2 separate regions of the Homo sapiens genome follow, and region 1 is linked to region 2. The links are contacts of gene promoters, found by promoter capture Hi-C in blood cells and fetal thymus (Javierre and others, 2016). All regions are on one chromosome and are shown on one strand. Each heading gives the region's core, a stretch centred on a gene start or on the middle of the fragment in contact. The rest is flanking DNA. Distances are from core to core; before and after follow the strand shown. Region 1 holds the start of ATG3 (autophagy related 3). Region 2 holds the start of ZBTB11-AS1 (ZBTB11 antisense RNA 1).

Region 1 (5,991 bases), core at 1,075-3,574, about 11 Mb before region 2:
CCCACTCTCCGAGAAACACCCAATAATGATCAATAAATACTAATGGAACTCAGAGGCTGGCAGAGATCCTCCGTGTGCTGAGCGCCGGTCCCCTGGGCCCCCTTTTTTCTTTCTCTATACTTTGTCTATGTCCCTTTCTTTTCCAAGTCTCTCGTTCCACCTAACGAGAAACACCCACAGATGTGGAGGGGCAACCCACCCCTTCACTCAATAACTAGTAAGAAGTACTCAATACAGTTTTGTGGAATTAAAGTGTTTGCTTAAATCCCTACATAAAAAAAGATTTCTTAAATACATACTTATCAAAGCTTATAATTTATACTGTTGATACAATATGACCGCACAATATAATGCTGACACCTTACCATTGATACAATAATTACAATAGTAAGTACCTCACAAATGCCAAGTGACCAAACAAATATATCCTTCTACTTCAAAATAAGGCGCAATTACACATTTTGCTATAGGTCCAGAAACACCTGTTGATTGAATTAACAGTCAAATGTTACGACTGGTTCTTCACCAAAGGGTTTGATTTTTGTATCTGATTGACTCACATTTCATCCATTATCAAACATTTTTTCTTGTTGAGGAATGCAAGGTTAAATAATCAAATTTAAATATGCTTTATCACTCACATGAAGCAAAAGGCATTATTATTTCCATGTTATATATAACAGAACCAAAGGCAAGAGAGAGATGTGTGATTAGATGGAAGTGCTCCATGCATATACCAAGTCTTAACTTACCTTCATTGGCAGAATACTTCACTAGTAAGATGCGACTTGAGCTTAAAGCAATGAATATGGCACCTAGCAGGAATGTATACATTGTTGACAAGGAGCATATTACAGGATGACTACAGCACTGTTTTTCCATTCCACTGTTTTTTAATTACCTTAAAGAGAAAAACACTTTCATGAACGACCTTGTTGGCAGACCCTAAACGCAAATACCATTGATCGTGAGGACAAAAAAGGAATTTTTAAAAAATTTTGGCTATGACTATATCAGCACCAAGAAAGTTGAGGCATAAAGAAACTATGACAAAAGGAAAGTGAAAATCTGATAAGAGGGAGTACTCTGGAGACAGAAAACGTAGAACCAGATTAGACCTGCTGACAAAGGTAGCAGGTGAGCAAATGACACTTTGCAACAGCAGAAAAGAATTCTTCAAAGCAATTTTGAATTTTATTTTTAAATTTTATTTATTTATGTATTTTGAGACGGAGTCTCGCTCTGTCACCCAGGCTGGAGTGCAACGGCGCGGTCTTGGCTCACTGCAACCCCTACCTACCGGACTCAAGCGATTCTCCTGCGTCAGCCTCCAGAATAGCTGGGACTACAAGCGCCCGCCACCACGCCCGGCTAATTTTTGTATTTTTAGTAGAGACGGGGTTTCACTATGTTGGCCAGGCTGGTCTCGAACTCCTGACTGTGATCCGCCCGCCTCTGCCTCCCAAAGTGCTGGGATTACAGGCGTGAGCCACCGCGCCCGGCCTCGCTTTTACTCTTATTAGTAAATAATTTTGCTGTAAGATAAGGCTTTCAGAATTGTATTTTCCTCCTCTTTTCCCTCGGAGGAAAAAGCTTATTAGGACAGACTTCATTACAATAACGACCAAAATGGAAATATCTGAAACACTGCTGTAAAGTTTTACTGAACTAGTTAGTGTTTGAAATGGAGGAGATCGTAGAAATCAATGAATCTAAGGCCCTCTTTTGATAGGCTGAGGACACTAAACCCCAGGTTGGGTAAGTAACTTGCCCAAAGCCTCCCAGCGTACTGTAGGAATAGCGCATAGAGCCTGCGGGGAGTGGGGAGAAATGCCAATACTGACAGCCCCATTGGGCGCACGCCTACAGGACGCCTCCCCGACAGGAGGGGGCCAGATTTCCCTTCACAGTCAGGGACTACCCTTCTAGTCACACATGCGCAGTAGGGCTCTTCACTGGCGCACCCTCCCCTCAGACGCAGGCGCAATTCCTTGCCCGCGGGGCGCGGTTACCTCCCTCAGAAGAGCTTCTAGTGGAAGAACGCACATCCTAGAGCTGAGACAGTAACTGTCTAGCCCCGTAGTAGCAGCAGTAGCCTTTAGGGTCCATACGTGGAGAAGCTACAGTAGGTATAGGCGAAAAAGCCCCTCCCTCTAAGCCGCCTATTGCAGAACAAAAACCACGATTACGTCCGGATTGGGAAAAAGCGGACCCGACACCCATTGCGCAGGCACGTTCAGTGTTACGCTTCCGGAAGGAGGGGAGAAGCGGCTTATCCCGCCCCAGCCCGGCCCCTTTCTCACGTCACGTGCCGGGAGAGTCTAGTGTCACGTGAGGCCCCGGTGGCGGCGCAGCTACGGCAAGAGAGTGAGAAGGAAGGGAAGCCGGAAGGGGCGCGAGTGAAGCAAAGCGAGGACAGACAGCTCGCAGAGGGCGAGGGGTGCGTGTGCGTCCGCTTCTCACCTCAGGTCTCCCTTCGGCCCCGCTGCCCTCCCTCGCGGCTGGGTGACAGCTGGGTCCGGTCCGTCGCGGGCTGCCTGGGGTGCGAGGATCGCGCACCCCGTCTTCGCGCGCTGTGCCTGCCGCCCCGCCCCCTCGTCCCGCCCGTCCCGTCGCGTCGCGTCCCGTCCCCTCGGGTGCTGCCAGCCGGGTGCTGATGCGAGTCGGTGGCAGCGAGGACATTTTCTGACTCCCTGGCCCCTGACACGGCTGCACTTTCCATCCCGTCGCGGGGCCGGCCGCTACTCCGGCCCCAGGATGCAGAATGTGATTAATACTGTGAAGGGAAAGGCACTGGAAGTGGCTGAGTACCTGACCCCGGTCCTCAAGGTAAGCCAGGCCAGGGTTGCCGGGAGCTGTCAGGCACATGCTCGACTTTTCAGGGACCAGGCGCCGCAGGAGTCCCCGCTTTCTCCGGCGGGGCAAGGTGTAGGAAGGCAGTAGGGCTCGAGACACAGGGAAGTGTGCAGCCCCCACCCGTAGTCTTAACCGGCTGTTCGTTAGGGCTTTCTGACTCCTCAGGGGTAAACTTGGAGCGACGCTCTGCGTGTTCCTGCCTTCTCCCGTCATAACTCTGCGCGGTCGGGTACGTCGGGTTGGAAGGGTGTTCGGAGGCTGAGTAGATTGAAGAACGTTAAATCCAAACACTGGAAGTCTTTTAGCCTTTTTAAGCAAGGATTTTGCTTCTCTTTAAAAAATGAATTTAGTGTTTGACACACAGAGGTCAAAAGAGACCTGAGGTGAGGTCACTTTTCCTTTAAGTTTCATGAAAGTCCGCTGTAGTGGGGAAGTTGTGACTGCGATCCCAACTCGTTTAGATTTCAGAGGAAGGAGGTGAAATTGGCAACATTATCTCATTCAGTAACCTTGAACCCATCTAACGAGCAAAACCTTTTTCCCAAGCTTTTCAGATAGCCGTAGCTGGTTATTAGTGATAACAAGGCACGGTTTGACCTTCCTGGCTGTATAATTTTTAAAAATATATTGGCAACAGTACAGCATTTTTAAAGTAAAAAATTGTGACACATTAGCTGTTACAGTAGTGACTGATTTTTTTTTTAAAGGTAAATTTCTACAACTGCCTTCAAGCTTTTCTTTTATAACTCTTTTGGAGTGTTTTGTTGTAACTTCATTTTTGCTTTCTGAAAAGTGAGCAAGAATAGTAAATTAATGGGAAGTTCTTGCTTAGTTTTTGTTTTTTTTTTCTAGTTGTTTTTAAGCTTTCAGTTAGAATGTACCAATCTCAGTGTGGGGGTGAAATACCTTAATATGCTAAGAATAGTGGAGAGTTTTGCTTTGCTCCCTTTCCATGACAAAGGGAAGTACTAGGTCTATACTTTTTAAAATACGTTTTTGTAAAGCTCCTTTTAAAAGAATAACTTATTGGCCAAGTAAGAAATAAACCAGCGATTATAAATGAGAATTTCAACTGTTGCTTTGCTTACATTTGTTTACTGTGAAAGTCATTTTAAGATTATTCAGTCAAACTAAGATTGGAAAATAATTTTCACATTTGAATCAAATGCTTTTACATAATTATGTTAACTTTTCAGAATATCATATCTACCTAGGTATACAGTATTTTAATAATACACCATTGTACAACTTTTTAGTTTCCGGGAGAGAGGAGCAAGAGACTGCCCAAATGAAATATAAAATGTATGATGTAGAATTATGTTTTCAGGAGTCCATCATACTTGCTCACCAAACTGAAAAGGAACTGTTGGCATGTCAGTATGTATGGTATATGTCTTTAGTAAAAAGGAAAGAATGAATGACCGTCTCCTTGATACTCCTGTGCAAACTGTTGTTTACAGAGAGAATCCTTACAGTTTCCTGCTTAGGGAGGGCAAGGAGAAAGAACAAAATCCTCAGGAAATAAGTAATAGCCTTCTCCTAGCAAGTAAAAATTAAGAAAAATCATGTTTTGTTTGGAGTATGTACATGCAGTAAACACTGAAGTTCTTACAATCATCTCTAAGGTTCTGCTTAATTGGTAGAGGCCCCAATCTCATCTGCTCCATCCCCTGACTGCTGTTGCTTAAGCTAACCTGATCTCTTTATTATTCTGTTAAGCACACTCTTGGTTTGGGGTTTTGCATGTGCTCTTCCCTCTATCTGAAACGCGCTTCGCACTTAACAGCCTTATGGCATGTTCCTTTCCTTAAGGTTTTTAAGTCATTATTCAGTGAAGTCTTTGTTCTCTTACCATTCTATTTTAAATGGCCATCTCTCCCCAGCCACCCCACAGATTCCTCTCAGCTTCATTTTTCTTTATGGTATGTTATTCATTACCATTTGGCTTTTCTTCCTCAACTGGAGTTGAAACTCCTTATGAGGGCAAGAATAAATTTGTATTTATGTTATTCACCCCCAAATATCCCCACTGCCTCAAATAGTGTCTGGCACATAGTAAACATTTGTTGAATGAATAATGTTTATAAATGAGTGTTTTCATTTTTGTAGACTCTACCAGAAAATCTTACATATAACTTAAAGTTTAGAAAAATTTAGAGAATAGTGTGTCAGTATCTTGGTGGAGATGAGAATTAGAGGAAAATGCTAAATAATTTCTAGATTTGGTTTCTAACATTATTCAGTTTAAATAAGACTGGCTGAATTGTAAGATGTCTAAACATCTTTAAGACATTTTTGCTGTGCTGTAAAATAAAGGTATTTGTTCATTTCACAGAATCACTGTAAGGCTTTATTTTTATTTAAATCTTAGAATGTTTGTACATAGAGCTTGGCCGGGCGCAGTGGCTCACGCCTGTAATCCCAGCACATTGGGAGGCCGAGGCGGGTGGATCACCTGAGGTCAGGAGTTCGAGACCAGCCTGACAAACATGGAGAAACCCTGTCTCTACTAAAAATGCAAAAATTAGCCGGGCATGGTGGCACATGCCTGTAATCCCAGCTACAGGCAGGAGGCTGAGGCAGGAGAATCGCTTGAACCCGGGAGGTGGAGGTTGCCGTGAGCCAAGATGGCGCCACTGCACTCCAGCCTGGGCAACAGGAGTGAAACTCCATCTTAAAAAAAAAAAAAAAGAATGTTTCTACATAGAGCTTTACTCTATTATAGCACTGATCTGATAGTATTATAATTATTTTCATGTCTGTTTCCTACATTAGACTTGTATATTCCTGTGGTCATTACCAGTGAGTGAAACAGATAGATAGATATAGATAGATACCAATGAGGTAGGTAGATAGGTAGATTAGATAGATTATAGATTAGATAGATAGACTAATTTTTTTTTGTATGTGCTCTATTGCCTAGAAGGGCACCAGGCAAATAATTGCCCCCAAAATATATTTAATTGATAGTGAAACATGATATAATATTGTTTTTCTTTCTGCTTTTTTTAGGAATCAAAGTTTAAGGAAACAGGTGTAATTACCCCAGAAGAGGTGAGTGCTGAAGATATACTGAAGTCTTTTTATTTTACAATAATACTAAACTAGGTGGCTTTTCTGCTTCATAAGAAAACA
Region 2 (6,317 bases), core at 1,028-3,527:
ACCCAGGCTGGAATGCAGTGGCACAATCTCGGCTCGCTACAACCTCTGCTTCCCGGGTTCAAGCGATCCTCCTGCCTCAGCCTCCCGAGTAGCTGGGACTTCAGGCCCAGTAGAGACAGGGTTTCACCATGTTAGCCAGGATGGTCTCCATCTCCTGACCTCGTGATTTGCCCGCCTCGGCCTCCCAAAGTGCTGGGATTACAGGCGTGAGTCACCGCGCCCGGCCAAAATATTTAAAGACAGTATGACAGGAGAGTGGGGTTGGCCTGACACGTAGACCAGCCTCCTGGGTTCGCAGAGGGTGCATTTGGTCTTCTGCTCTCACTGCCCGACCCCATGGGGGAAAGAGGTGCATCTCCATTTTTAAATTCCTCCTTTGAGCTATAGTGGCAAACTCAGCAACTAAGTAGATCCCAAGCCTGGTAGTTTCTTTTTTCTTCTGGGCCTTGAGAGCTCATGTCCCCGCACCTGGAATCTTTCAAGGATGTCCGGGCCATCCGGGAATTACTGCGTGTGCACACACACAAAAACACGCCCCTAACACCAGAGGCTGGCTGTATGATTCTGTTTTCGAGCCTACTGTATTCACCTGTCTGCCCGTCAGCTACTTCTAGGAGCGTCAAAGGGCCTCACCCAGAGACTACAGACCCTCCGGTGGAGAAGTGTACTAGGCCGTGTCTGCAGCTGGAGCCCTCGGCCTGAAATGTTCTGGCTTTAGCAAAGCGGCGACAGTGTCCAACCCCAGTCCCCGAGGAGGGATGTCAGCCCTGGGCCCCTGTGAGCGCTGCAGATTCGTCCCAGGAAAGGGTGACCGGGGTCGCTGCTCCGGGATTACCAGCTAAATACCTGTATTAGCATCCTCAGCACGCACTGGGAGACGCAGCTCAAGTCCGCTCCCCTTCTTGCACCCTCATATATATTTGGTGCAAAATGGAGAACCTTTTCCCCTACGTTTGTGTAAAAATATATGTAAATAAAGCCTTAAAATAGTGTTACCGACCCCCTTTTCCACTCGCAATAACATTGACTATAAATGCTGATAATTCCAAAAGAATCTCGACTCTTCCTTGAGTAGTCTGGAGCTAGCAGGTGCAAGTTTAGAAACAATAACTCATCACTGAGGGAGGCACTGAAAATTTTATAACTGTTAACTGGAATCTAAATTTCCATGTAAATGGGCTGTCTCTGGTCCCGTGTCAAGAGACTAATATTTTTCCAGAAGCCTGAAAATATGCTTTTATGATGTTGGGAGTCTCAAACGTAAAAACGGACTCCTAACCCTCTGGATGTTTCGGCTGAACTCTCAACTGTCCACCAGCTCCCCCTACACGTGGCTCCTTAGAAAGCGTGGAAAAGGGAAAAATGAAAAGAGAAACTGCCAGGACTTAAGATGTCTGCTTAAAGACTCCCTCGAACTGCAGTGAAGGGTCCTACCCGCTTCCAAAATGTCCACCCGCATTCCTGACGTCACTGGATCGGCTCCATCAAGCCAGAAAACGAGAGTGCGCTCCAATCAGGGCTCAGTCCCCGCCCTTGCCTTGCGTCACTTCCGGTGGTGCAGCAGCCATTTTGTCAGTCGCCAGCGGATCCCGCGCGCTGGAGAAGTGCAGTTCCCCCTGGTTACCAACTCGCCCGCTTTTCCTTCGGACTAAGGGAGCCGTCGAAGAGCGCTCGCCAAAGGCGCAGCCGTTTCTCCCTACGGTGCCGCCGCTCCTCCTGCAGCCGCCCGTAGGTAGCGGGCCGTTTTCCTCACCTGTCCCTGACAGGCGCCCTCAGGGAGCCGCGGTCCGCGATGTCAAGCGAGGAAAGCTACCGGGCCATCCTGCGTTACCTGACGAACGAGCGCGAGCCGTATGCGCCGGGCACCGAGGGCAATGTCAAGCGTAAAATCCGAAAAGCTGCCGCCTGCTACGTGGTGCGCGGCGGGACTCTGTATTACCAGCGGCGGCAGCGGCACCGCAAGACCTTCGCGGAGCTGGAGGTGGTGCTGCAGCCGGAGCGACGCCGGGACCTCATCGAGGCGGCGCACCTGGGTCCCGGCGGCACTCACCACACCCGGCATCAGACCTGGCACTACTTGTCCAAGACGTACTGGTGGCGAGGTGAGACCTAGCCCGCGGCGAGGGGGCGGGCTGGCGACTCGTTGCCTGGGCAAGGCTCGCTGGCGAGGCCTATGCGTACCCACGAGTCGGAGGGTCTCGGACGCCTCTGGGCGGCGGAGCTGCTGCCAGGCGGAGCCGAGAGGGTGGGGGACGCGAAAGGAGCCGCACTTCCCACAGGAAGGAGGCCGGCGAAGCTGGGGGCGGGCCCTGGCCCTGGGTGGGACCAAGGGGGCTTCCCCGGAGGCCGGGCCAGCCGCGGGGAGGGGCCGGACGCCTGGGCTGCGCCAGGTCCGCCTCCTTGGGCGGCCCCTTGAGGCTGTAGGCCCCGGCCCTCTGGAGGTGGCGTGTGGCTCGCGGCAGTGGAGGCTGCGGGGTGCACGTTTTCGACTGTGCTGACGTTTGGAAGGGGGGACGAGTCACCCGAAGCCGGGTCTCCCGTTTCTTTAGTGCTGCGCTTGGGTTTTGGCGAGCGAGTATGAGCTGCTCTGGACACATTCGCTAGTGTTCCTCAAATTTTGCCGCTGCTGCGTAAATAAGGAATAATACAATTATTTGCAGAAGTGATAAGGAGTGATTGAGAAATCGCCTTGAGCGTTTTTTTTTAAGAACAAGAAGTAAATGTAAAAGATATCAGTTACTGTTTTTGTTGTTTGGTTTTGCGGGGGCGGGGTGTTTGAGTAGACACGGGTCTCGCCTCGTTCCCCAAGCTGGTCTCCATCTGGCCTCAAGCCATCCTCCCGCCTCGGCCTCCCAAAGTGTTGGGATTTCAGGCATGAGCCACGGCGCCCAGCTTGATATTCGTAACTCTGAATGTTTTAATAATCTTTCCCCTAATGATGTGAAAAACGCGTTTGGGAACTGTGTAGCATTGTATATACGCAGAAAAGGTACGATTACTGTGACTTTTTGATTGTCAAAAAATACAGCTCTGAAGTTACTTGACTCCTTGGGAACCAGTTGTAAGGGAGGATAGCAAGTGTCCTTGGCTTCTTAACCATCTTCACTCTCCACAGTTAATGAATATTCAAACTGTCAGAATTAGTTAATAGTTTATAGTCCCATTTAAGAAATTTTGTTAGGAACAGTGCTGTCACTCTCCAATATGGCTACAGAAAAGTTATTTCATTCAAATCTTGGTTACTTCGTCTGTGAATAACGAAATTACTGAATAGTTTCTAAAGTTCTTTTCGGTTTATAAACATCATCAAGTTTATTCGTTTACGAACTATTGGATAATCAAATTCTTCCATTTATTTTCCACTTTAAACCAATATCTGAATTAAATTCCTGTAAGGACAGACAAATGCGAAGATTAAATTATGAGGTAATGAAGTAATCAGTGCATTTTGTTTGGATGGGTTTGGGTAGACATTAGTTTGTTGAACAAATGTCTCAGATTTAATACTTCAGGATTTGTTAAAGATGATAATTGTAACTATAGGTAACATTGATCAAGCTTGTATATGCAGGATGTAGTCGTTAGCCCTTGACATTTATTTAACCTTCATAAAACCTTAATACTTATCTCCCTTTTTTGGAGACAGAGCGTAGGGGGTCTTGCTTGGTGCAGTGACAACGATCACAGCTCACTGTAGCCTCGACCTCCTAGGCTCAGATGATCCTCCCTTTTCAGCCTCTATCTGTTTTACAGATGAAAAAACTAAAAGCACTAGGATGTTAAATAACACAACAAAAGTCACACAGCTGACCTTTGTGATCTCACACTTTTCTTAACCCAGTGTTATGTGGTATTTTGTGTTCAGAATTTTTCTTTTTCTAAGTTCATTATCTGTGAGTGATTCTAATCCAGTTGTTTTTTTTTTAATTTTTAGTGTGCAGTGTCTTAAAAGGCAAAAACCTGAGACGATGTTTATTTATTTATTTATTTATTTTATTTATTTATTTATTGAGACAGAGTCACTCTGTTGCCCAGGCTGGAGTGCAGTGGCGCGATATCGGCTCACTGCAACTCCACCTCCCGGGTTCAAGCGATTCTGGTGCCTCAGTCTCCAGAGTAGCTGGGATTACACCACGCCCAGCTAATTTTTCTATTTTTAGTAGCGACGGGGTTTCACCATGTTGGCCAGGCTGGGCTCGAACTCCTGAGCTCAGATGATCTGCTCACCTCGACCTCCCAAAGCGCTGGGATTACGGGTGTAAGCCACAGCGCCCGGCCAATACAACCTCTTTTGGTCTCTAAATCTACACTCATATAAATGCTTTTTTGATAAAGTTATATTTAACTCGAACCCATTGTTCCTTTCTTTCTTTTCTTCTCTTTTTTTCTTTGAGACAGAGTCTTGTTCTGTCACCCAGGCCGGAGCACAGTGGCGCGATCTCGGCTCACTGCAGCCTTCGCCTCCCAGGCTCACGTGATTCTGGTGCCTCAGCCTCCGGAGTAGCTGGGACTACAGGCGCGTGCCTCCACACCTAGCTAATTTTTGTTTTGCTCTGTTGGCCAGGCTTGTCTCGAACTTCTTACCTCAAATGATCCGCCCACCTCAGCCTCCCAAAGTGTGTGAGCCACGCCCCAAGCCCCATTGTTTATGTTCTGCAAAAAAAAAAAAAAACAGTCTCTGTGAATCCATAAATTTGACAAATTCCTAGGTTAAACAGGTTTCTTCACCGTAGAAGTCAGAGGTTCTAATAATAAATGTCAATTGCATATAGCTAAAATTTTTCTGAATTTATGACTTCAGTGTATACTTTTATAATCAGTGTGGGACATAATACAATTTGGAAAATATTGCTTGAATACTATTTGAAGATTGAAAGTATAAGGAACTTGGTGGCCAGGCAAGGTGGCTCATGCCCGTCATCCCAGCACTTTGGGAGGCCAAGGCGGGCAGATCACTTGAGGTCAGGAGTTTGAGACCAGCCTGGCAAAAATAGTGAAACCCCATCTCTACTAAAAATACAAAAAATTAGCCAGGTGTGGTGGCGGGCGCCTGTAATCCCAGCTACTCGGGAGGCTGAGGTGGGAGTATCACTTGAACCCAGGAGGCGGAGGTTGCAGTGAGCCGGGATCCCACCACTGCACTCCAGCCTGGGCAACAGAGAGAGACTCCATTTCAAAAAAAAAAAAGTGTAAGGAGCTTTGTATAATTCGACATTTTAAAACACTTTTCAGGAATATTCTCTATACCATACCTCTATCATTTTACCTCATAACCTTTTCATTTGTACTTATTTGAAGATTTGGGGGTAACTTTCTGCCCTAGGAATGGACAAGCGTGCTCTTGTGTAAGTAGAATAATATACCGAAAATCCCATGACTTCTGGAGGCCTAGCTCTGCCATTTTACTAGATGTGACTTTGGACAAGCTACATACCTCTTAGGGCTTTATTTTCCTCTTGTATAGAATGGGAATTAATTGTTCTCTTACAAGGATGATAGTGGGATGTGTGTACATATACATAAAGCCTTGTCCCTGCCTCCTCACCCCTACCCTAGCATGCTGGGAGCTGGAAGTTGAAATTCAAAATCTTTTGTGAGTGGCTTGTATATAATCAACTTTTGTTAGATTGTGTATGCTTTTATTTCACACAACCCTAAAATCTCATAACTTTCAAAAACAAAAGATTTATTTTAAACTTTCATTACAAGTTTTGTAGTAGTCCTGTTCCAGGCTACAGATTGGTTTCAGCTTTTTTCATCTGAAATTCAGGTTTAAGAACAACATCCCTCTGGGACATTGCTGTTCTTTGTGAGAGGGGACAAAGATCAGAGAACTGGTGCAAAATACTCAGTACCTCTTAAGGTTCTGTTCAGATATGGTACACATCACATGTGTGCAAATCAAATCACACGGTCAAGCCTAATGTCACTGGGGTGGAGAAGTATTAGCTTGAGCCATATTAAATTGTTAATTTGTTTGGTTTTGTTTTGAGACAGAGTCTTGGTCTGTTGCCCAGGCTGGAGTGCAGTGGCACAATCTCAGCTCACTGCAACCTCCGCCTCCCGGGTTATTAGTGAGTCTCCGGCCTCAGCCTCCAGAGTAGCTGGGATTACAGGCGTGCGCCATCATGCCCTAAATTGTTAATTTGTGTAGGTCAAAAAAAGGTGAATATTGGCAGTTTCATATAGTTCCTCTTGCATGAAAACATTGCAACTCACATGAAAATGGGTGGAGCTATATAGTCATCTTATGATTAGAGAAACAAATAACTGGGAATAAATAAAAAAAATTACCTCAGCAGGAGAACATCATTTAT

Evidence for each region. Contacts are between HindIII fragments. The CHiCAGO score rates a contact against its expected background, and 5 or more counts as called.
Region 1: the fragment with the promoter of ATG3 here is called in contact with the fragment with the promoter of ZBTB11-AS1 in region 2 in 1 of 17 cell types (total CD8 T cells); the score reaches 8.0 in total CD8 T cells.

What each region holds. Positions count from the first base shown.
Region 1 is chr3:112,558,295-112,564,285 of GRCh38, reverse strand. ATG3 (autophagy related 3) reads left to right here and starts at 2,324. Exons shown (of 12, transcript NM_022488.5): 1 at 2,324-2,829; 2 at 5,869-5,910. The coding sequence starts at 2,758. It overlaps SLC35A5 (solute carrier family 35 member A5), which reads right to left and starts at 2,241. Exons shown (of 7, transcript NM_017945.5): 1 at 2,013-2,241; 2 at 753-901. The coding sequence starts at 882. RefSeq lists enhancers at 1-322, 1,943-2,752, 2,753-3,562. The HindIII fragment of the contact is 1,809 bases long and covers 1,596-3,404 here.
Region 2 is chr3:101,672,390-101,678,706 of GRCh38, reverse strand. ZBTB11-AS1 (ZBTB11 antisense RNA 1) reads right to left here and starts at 2,277. Exons shown (of 1, transcript NR_024407.1): 1 at 1-2,277. ZBTB11 (zinc finger and BTB domain containing 11) reads left to right here and starts at 1,575. Exons shown (of 11, transcript NM_014415.4): 1 at 1,575-2,102. The coding sequence starts at 1,793. It overlaps LOC124906262 (endogenous retrovirus group K member 5 Gag polyprotein), which reads right to left and starts at 2,262. Exons shown (of 3, transcript XM_047449415.1): 1 at 469-2,262. RefSeq lists enhancers at 1,883-2,437, 4,331-4,831 and a silencer at 2,154-2,523. The HindIII fragment of the contact is 10,842 bases long and covers 1-3,560 here.